Regions from separate parts of the Homo sapiens genome. Here region 1 is linked to region 2. The links are contacts of gene promoters, found by promoter capture Hi-C in human tissues and cell types (Jung and others, 2019). All regions are on one chromosome and are shown on one strand. The core of a region is centred on a gene start or on the middle of the fragment in contact, and the rest is flanking DNA. Distances in the headings are between cores, read along the strand shown. Region 1 has its middle 40 kb from the start of CTAGE1. Region 2 holds the start of ESCO1 (establishment of sister chromatid cohesion N-acetyltransferase 1).

Region 1 (4,507 bases), core at 1,344-3,843, 780 kb after region 2:
CCATGAAAGAGTAACCATTAAGAGTTTTCACCTTAAGAAACCAGAAAAGAAAGAGCAAACTGGTCCAATGCAGGCACCAGAAAGGAAATAAGAGACTAAAACCAAAATCAATGAAACAGAAAAAGGAAAAACAATAGAGAACCAAAGTAACAAAACTGTTTCTCAAAAAAAATTTTTAAATGAAAAAGGAAATACTTTCAGCTAAACTGATCAAGAAAAAGAGAAGACTACAAGTTTCCAAAATCAGGAGTGAAAGAGGTGCCTTTCTACTGACCCTATAGAAGTTAAAATTGTATGAAAATATTAAGAACAACTTTATGTAAATAAATTTAACAACATAGATGAAATGGACCAATTCCCTGAAAGACCCAAACTACCAAAGCTCACTCAAGAAGAAATAGATAACCTCACTAGTACTTATCTGTTAAAGAAATTGTAGTTAAAAACTTTCCAACAAAGAAAACCTTATGGTTTCACTGGTGATTATTTTAAAAAGAAATAATATCAGTTCTACACAATGTCTTCAGAAAAGTAAAAGAGGATGCTCATCTTATGAGGCTAGAATTATTCTAATATCAAAACCAGACAATGATACAGCAGGAGAGACAGCTGCAGACCAATATCCCTCATAAGCATAAATACAAAAATTCTCAAAATATTAAAAAATTAAATCTAGTAATGTATATAAAAACTTTTTGGCTAAGTAGGGTTTATTTCAGGAATGAAGTCTGGTTCACATTTGAAAGTCAATCGGTGCAAATACCCTATTAACCTACTAAAGAAGAAAAACATATAATCATGTTAGTAGATGCAGAAAAGCATTTGACAAAGTTCAACATCTATTTGTATTTTAAACTTTCAACAAACTAGAAATAGAGGAATTTTTTTAATCTGATGAATGGCATTAACAAAAACCCTGCAACTAACATACTTAATAGTGAAAGACAGAATGCTTTCCCCCTAAGATCAGGAATAAGGCAATATCATGCTGGCAGTCCCAGCCATAGTATAGTAAGGGGAAAAATGCATTTACAATGGAAAGAAAAAAAATAAAACTGCCTCTGTTCACAGATGGCATGATTGTCTACATAGAAAATCCCAATGAATCTTCTAGAAAACTGGAATTAATGAGTTTAGCAATGTTGCAAGATACATGGTAAATATAAAAACCTCATATATGTATGTACTAACAATAAACAATGTCAAATAGAAATTACAAAGAAAGGATCAATTACAATAGCTCCAAAAAAATCAAAAAATGAAATAGTTGTGAATCTAGCAAAGTACATGTAGGTTGGTATGCTGAAGATGACAAAATGCTAATGAAAAAAATCAACAAAGATGGAAATAAATGAAAAAATATACTCTGTTCATGGGTTGAAAAACTCAGTCTTATTAACATGTTCATCCTCCCCATATTGATATAGATTCAATGCAATCCCAAGTAAAATAGCAGGATTTTTATAGCTGATCCTAACATTTTTATGGAAAGGCAGAGGAATTACAACAGCCAGAATGGTTTTGAAAAAGAACAAAGTTAGAAGACTCACACTACCTGAACTGAAGACTTACTATAACATCATAATCATCAAGACAGTGTGGTATGGGCAAAAGGATAAACACATAGATAAATGGAACAGATAGAGAGTGCAGAAATAGAACCACATAAATATGATCAGTTGATTTTGACAAAGATGGAAAGCAATCCAATGGAGAAAGGATTGTCTTTTCAACAAACGGTGTTGGACTAATAGGACGTCCGTTTACAAAATAAGAACCTAGACCTAAACCTCATACCTTTTAAAAATTAAAATGCGTCAGAGAACTAAACATAAAAAATCCATAAAATTATTAAAAGAAAAAAGGGAAGAAAATCTTTGTGATCTTGAGTTCAGTGAAAGCTTTCTCTCAGATATAATACTAAAAATATGATCAATTAAAAAATTGATAAGTGAACTTCATAAAAATTGAAATCTCTTGCTCTGAGCAAATAACTGCTAAAAGAATAAAAAAACAAGCTGTACACTGAGTGAAAATATTTGAAAATCACATCTCTGATAAGAAGCTTATGTCTAGAATATATGAAGAGCTCTCAAACCTCAATAAGAAAGAAAGAAACTCAATTATATAATTGGCAAAAAATGTTAACACTTCACCAAACAAGACATATATGTGACAAATAAGTATGTGGAAGGAAGCTCAATATTATTCATTAGGAAAATGCAAATGAAAACCATAAAAGATACCACTGCATACATATTAGAGTGGTTAAAAAACAATCAAATAAGCCTGGCAGTACCAAGTGCCGGTGAACATTCAGGGCAACTGGAATTTTCATATATTGCAGGTAGGACTGCCAAAGAACAGCCACCATTTTTGAAAAACAGTTTGGCAATTTCTTATAAAATTACATATGCATTTTCCATATGACTCAGCAATTCTACTCTTAAATGTTTAACCTAAAGAAATGAAAACTTATGTTTTCACAAAAACCTGTACATGAATATTTATAGCAGTACTATCTGTAATCACCAAAAACTGAAAACAAGTTAAATGCCTTATAACAGGTGAATGGATAAACAAATTTTGATACATCCATACTCAGCAATAAAAATAATCAACTATTGATACATGCAACAACATGAATGAATCTCAAATGCATTATGCCACGTTAAAGAAGCCAGACTCAGAAGGAAGTTTCCACATGTATGACTTTCTCGAAAAGGTTAAACTATAGAGATGGAAAAACCTATGTGAGTTCTAGGTAAGATAATTCATGTCTCTGATTGCCTAGGATGGTCCTAACTTATCTCTACTATCCTGCCTTTACATGTAGTTTGTAATTTTCCTGAGTTTTAATGTTTTTATTTTTATTTATTTATTTGTTTGTTTAAAGATGGGGTCTCAGTATGTTGCCCAGGCTGGTCTCAAACTCCCAGCCTCAAGCGATCCTTCCAGCTCAGCCTCTCAAGTAGCTGGGATTACAGGTGAGCATCACTGTACCCAGACTGACTTTTTATTTTAAATAAAGTATTTTTATTATTAATTGAGTTAAATGAAGCCAAGTATTTGGTAAACCTGTTGATTAGAAGAACTTCTTCCAAGGCTGTATAGCAGTGATTGGAATTCTCACTTTCATATGTTAGTAATTTTGAAAAAGGACCAGAAATAATCCCACTCTCTTCTCCTGGGTTTCTTTTCCCATTCTTTCTAGATGGAATATAACTAGCATCTCCCTTTCAAGGATAGCACGCAGGGCATTCAGTGATAAAACTAAGTGCAGTGGGGTATGAGCAGCTCAGAACAGCTCATTCCTTCAGATCTAGGGAGGTATTTGATGTGACTGCCCCTGCTGGTCACTTGGTGTGCCATCTAGTTGTGCCATGGCTCCAGCTGCAGTTTATGAGATGTGCAAAGCTGGTAGACCATTAGTCTGCACCATCCAATGGAAATAAAGCAGATTTTAGGTTATGTGTGTGTAAAAAATGTGGGGGAAATAGGATCTGAGCAGTCGGTCTGTAGGGCATAGTCCAAATGCTCTTGTTAGAGTAATCTTGTTACTTACTGTATGGGGGGCATCACAAATATTGCTTTATTTTTATTTGTTAATATTTCTCTAAAATTTTACATTAAATGCTTTCAGCAGCAAGGAGGTTAAAAATTAAGTGCATGATTAATAAAAAATTAAGTGCTGAGTTTCTATTTCTTAAGAAAGTTGATGTTGAAAGGTTAAGTGACACAAACTACTGGTTGGCATTCAAAGTGCTACAGTGGTAACATTGTCAAAACTGCTGAAGAAATGTTACCATCTGCTTCCAAGTTAGTAGTTAAGTAGTGTAGTGGGTTGAATGGTAGTCCACCCAAAATGTATGTATACTCAGAACCTGTGAAAGTGACCTAATTTTTAAAAAGAGGTCTTACCTGCAGATGTAATTAAGGATCTCAAGATGAAATCATTCTGGATGATCCAGGTGAGCCCTAAATCCTATGACAAGTGTCATTCTAAGACAGAGAAGAGGAGACAGAGACATGGAGGAGAAGGCCATATGAAGATGAAGATGGAGATGGAGTGCTGTGGCCACAAGCAAAGCTGACAGCCACCAGAAGCTGGAAGGAGCAAGGAGCGATTGTCACCCAGAGCCTTCAGTGGGAGTGTGGCCCTGTGGACACTTTGATTTTGGACTTCTGGCCTCCAGAACTGTAAGAATAAATTCTGTTCTTTTAAGCCACCATGTTTGTAGCAATTGGTTATGCAAACTTAAAAGACAAATAACAAGTAGTCTCAATGATTCAACACATGAACCTACAGCAGGAAGGTTACATATTACCCCGTGAAGCATAATTTCTCACTTTGACTACGTATCTGTTTTTCTAAATCCACTTAATCCTTTTCATTCTAAATTTTCTTTGTATGTAAGAAAATGAAGCTGTACTCTAAATGAATTGTCTCCATTTGCAGGAAAAGAACTTTGCACACAGTTAAATGATGCCAGATTTTCATCACTGT
Region 2 (4,474 bases), core at 1,678-4,177:
ATAAATGTCTAAAGGAAGCTGAACAGAGCAGAGGATATAAATCTTCCTTTAAGCATTGTAATGCAATCAAGCATAAGATGTATATGCCCCTTCCCCTCAGGAAAAGACAAGACATGATGGCTGGGTTAACAGAATGCTCTTATTTGCCAAAAGTAACTACAGTATTATAATACAGCTATAATACAGAACTTATACAGGAAAAACAGAACCAAAGGATTTTCATTGAATGATCCACAGAAAAATATGAAAGTCAGGGTTACAAAAGGGGTAATATAGTCCTTAATTATCTACAGTAACAATTTTACTGGAGTTGGTTTCTAGTACCTAAATTTTAATCACCTTCAATAGAAGGTATTCCAAGAACTCTATGTGGTACAAAAATCTGCCAATAAAAGTCATGAAAAAATATTTAACTATTACAAAAAAATCCATTATTCGAACTGTGCAGCGCTGGTCACGTTCATTAACAGAATAAATACAATCAGCTCTGCATAATAAATTACCAAGCTAAAAAGGACTATCTGGCAAAAGAAGTTAATGGCATTCATTAATTAGGGTACTTTTTTAGTTATTCTGTGAAGCATAATTTATCAATTTAAATGCCAGCACCTTGTATGGGACGGACATTAAAAAAATTACTTGGCCGGGCATGGTGGCTCACGCCTGTAATCCCAGCACTTTGGGAGGCCGAGGCAGGCGGATCACCTGAGGTCAGGAGTTCAAGACCAGCCTGGCCAACACGGTGAAACCCTATCTCTACTAAAAATACAAAAAAATTAGCCGGGCATGGTGGCACTTGTCTGTAATCCCAGCTACTCGGGAGGCCGAGGCAGGAGAATCACTTGAACCCAGGAGGCGGAGATTGCAGTGAGCCGAGATCTCGCCACTGCCCTCCAGCCCGGACGACAGAGTGAGACTCCATCTCAAAAAAAAAAAACAAACAATTACTTGTTCACTACAGGATTATAATATTGATTGAGAAAGGTGAGACAATAGCATATTTTCCTCAGTTAGCAATGATAAAGGAGTTCTAGCTCGTAAGCCAGGACAAATTTTGGAATTGTGCTTCCAAAGTCACATATCTGACCCAACAGTGATACTCTGCATTCTGCCTAAAAGGGAAAAAGTGGCTCTATTACAGTCCTAGTTTCCTCATTTCCTCACATGCTCTAGGCCTGAATTTGCGACTTCCAAATTAAGCACGTTTTAAAGCACTTCTCATCCTACTCCCATGTCTAATTCCATTGATTAGATTTTTTGCTTTTCAAAAAAAAAAAAAAATTCACCAGGCACAGTGGCTCAGGCCTGTAATCCCAGCACTTTTGGAGGCCCAGGTGATCACTTGATCCCAGGAGTTCGAGACCAGCCTGGGCAACATGGCGAAACGCCGTCTCAACAACAAATAGAAAACTTAGCCTAACATGGTAGCGGACGCCTGTAGTCTCAGCCACTCAGGGAGGCGGAGGTGGGAGGATTGCTTGGGGCCGGGGAGGGAGGTCAAGGCTGCAGTGAACAGTGATTACACCACTGCAATCCAGTCTGGGCGACAGAGCGAGACCCCGTCTCAAAATAAAATAATAACTTAAAACTTTATTCGTGTTGGTGTCCTGTGTAAAGCAGAAACTAAGTACTTGACCAGAAGACAAAGTGAATATAGCATAGTTCACTGCAACCTGGATGTTTTCAACTGAAATCTATGTTTTATCCACTTTTTTAAAAAAGCCAATGCTGGTGGGGGGACTAACCACACCTTATGCCACCAAGTAGCGCTTTTGTTTCCTGCGAAGCTTATTTATTGAGATATCGTTTTGTAATACTATCTAGATACTGTGTGCTGCGATTCCTGTTTAAAGGAATCTCATTGCAGCTAAGACTACAGAAAACATGGTTCATAGTACTTCTCAAATCGCAAAGCTTGAGCTCCTTCCTCCTCCTCTTCCTCCCTCCCCTGGTCCCCGCTGCGTCCCCATCGCCCCGGAAAATAAAGCACACGCCGGATTTTCGGACGCATCATTGAGAGGCGGAGGGAGAGGAGGTAGTCTTCGAATTGTTGGACTTGCTATCCCATTCTGCCTGTGCAAAATAAACCCCCATAGTAAAATAATCTTAACCCGTGATAAAAATCGAGGACCCAATTCTCTTTGGTTCGCCTCTCTCCATCGCTATAAACTTCACTGCGGCCCTCAATGCACTCATTTCTACTCCAGAGCCGCCCTACCTGTGCCGAGACCCCCATTTGCAGCATGAGTTACTCTATGACCTTGGGCCCGCTCCCCTCCCAAACTGAAGGCTGTAAAACCAAGACCCCACATCGCGCCCCGCAAACTGCAGAGGCCTCCAGGCTCAGGCCGGGTCAGCGGGTTGCGCCAGGAGGCGGCGAGGGACTGGCTCCGGTGAAGCGCCGGGAAGAGAAAACGCAGGGGGCGGAGACGGGGCCCGGAGCTACCTGCGGGACCAGCACTGGCGCTGCCCCGGTGCTAGCAATGGCTGCGCGCCACCTCGGGGCTCCCGGAGCCCTCGCGGCAGTGCTGGGAACTCCGGCCCTGCCCCGTCGGCGGTCACGACCCCTTATGAACTTCGACCGCCCAGCAAACAGCGGCAGGTGGTGCGCGGACACGCGAGCACGTTAGCTGCCTACCTCAAGCGACGGCGTCTTGGAGCCTAGAGCCTCCCACCTCCCTCCCAGGGGCGCGAAGAGCTGGGACCGGAGCAGTAGGAAGGGGCGTGCGAGGCAACACGCCACCGAGGGTGGAACAGGAAGAGGGAGAACTGTCCGCTCCCTGAAGGGGCTGGCAAAAGAGAGGTGAAGACACAGGCGGCGGGGACCGTCAGGGACGCTCGCGTACCTTCCTTTTGCCTGGCGGAGGGTCAGACTAGCGCCAGCGGATCGCCTCACATCCGGGTATCAGGAGACACTCAGCTGCTTCTGCTGCGGCCGCCGCCTCCCCCGCGGCGCAAACACCAAACTTCCGGCGACGACGGCGACGCCTCGCTCGTCAGATGGGAGTTACCTGTGACCGTCTTGGGTGCGCTTGCGCAACGCTCCTCTTCAGCCCTAACCGGCTCAGCTGACGTGCCCAGAAGACGAAGATGGCCGCCACGCTCACTGCGTGTCACGCAGTTTTTCACCCCGGCCCGGACGGCTGGGCGTCGAGGAAAGGCGAGCTAGTGTCCATCCTCAGCGCAGGCGCGGTGGGAGGCCTAGCGCGCGCGCCTCCGCGGGTGGTCGCCTGGCAGGGAAGTGGCGGCGCCCCCTAGCGGCGGCCGCTTGTCGTTCCTGGGGTCATCGCTTTGAGCTGAAAACCACCCAGGCCCCCAGCGGTTGTGGTTTACCTTGGAAATTTGTCGCAACTGGTTGCCATGTAGGTTTTGGCTGCTTCTGTCTGCGATGTATAATCCAAGTGCCTTTGGTCTTCCATATGAGCCAATGTAAAGAAGGAGGGTGGGGCCGGGCGCGGTGGTTCACGCCTGTAATCCCAGCACTTTGGGAAGCAGAGGCGGGTGGATCATTTGAGGTTAGGAGTTCGAGACCAGCCTGGCCAACATGGCCAACATGGTGAAACCCCGTCTCTACTAGAAATACAAAAATTAGCCGGGTGGTAGTGGCGTGCGACTGTAATCCCAGCTACTCGAGAGGCTGAGGCGGGAGAATCCCTTGAGCCTGGGAGGCGGAGGTTGTGGTGAGCTGAGACTGGGCCACTGCACTCTAGTCTGGACGAGTGAGACCCTGTCTCAAATAAAAAAAAAAGGAGGGTGCAGTCCCTACACTGCCCTCCAGCACCTCCAAAAAATGCAGGGCTTCGCCCTCTCCTTGCACACTTTCTTCCTGTGTATCAGAGTGCAAGAATCATCAGAAATTGTAAAATATTCTGCTAGACTTAGTCAGACTGAGTGTTCAGACAAAGCTTTGGCTCGCTCTTGGACGCCTCTAGAGATAGAATCCAAGATTCTATCACTAGGATTCATGGTTCCCACACTTCTTTCTTTTGTGACAGGAAGGATCTTGCTGTGTAGCCCTGGCTGGTGTGCAGTGGCACAGTAACGGCTCACTGCAGCCTCGACTTGGGCTCAAGCGATCCCACCTGCCTCAGCCTCCCTGAGAACTGCATGTATGAAGCCCACGACACCATGCCAGGCTAATTTTTTTTTTTTTTTTTGAGATGGAGTCTCACTCTTGTCACCCAGGCTAGAGTGCAATGGCACGATCTCGGCTCACTGCAACCTCCGCCTCCCAGGTTCAAGGAATTCTCCTGCCTCAGCCTCCTGAGTAGCTGGGACTACAGGTGCCTGCCACCATGCCCGGCTAATTTTTTATTTTTAGTAGAGACGGGGTTTCACCATCTTGGCCAGGCTGGTCTCGAACTTCTGACCTTGTGATCCCACCTGCCTCGGCCTCCCAAAGTGCTGGGATTACAGGCGTAAGCCACCGCGCCCGGCCGCCAGGCTAATTTTTTTATATTTTGTAGGGATAAGG

Evidence for each region. The method cuts DNA at HindIII sites, captures the fragments that hold promoters and counts their contacts. A contact is called where the count stands out against the background at its distance.
Region 1: a contact is called between a fragment that was not itself captured here and the fragment with the promoter of ESCO1 in region 2, in 1 of the 25 tissues and cell types used here (heart left ventricle).

The regions. Positions count from the first base shown.
Region 1 is chr18:22,375,526-22,380,032 of GRCh38, forward strand. No RefSeq gene overlaps it. Among named protein-coding and RNA genes, the nearest start is that of CTAGE1, 40 kb to the right of the region's middle. The HindIII fragment of the contact is 4,698 bases long and covers 245-4,507 here.
Region 2 is chr18:21,597,777-21,602,250 of GRCh38, forward strand. ESCO1 (establishment of sister chromatid cohesion N-acetyltransferase 1) reads right to left here and starts at 2,928. Exons shown (of 12, transcript NM_052911.3): 1 at 2,847-2,928. RefSeq lists enhancers at 1,272-1,566, 2,634-3,153. The HindIII fragment of the contact is 11,871 bases long and covers 1-4,474 here.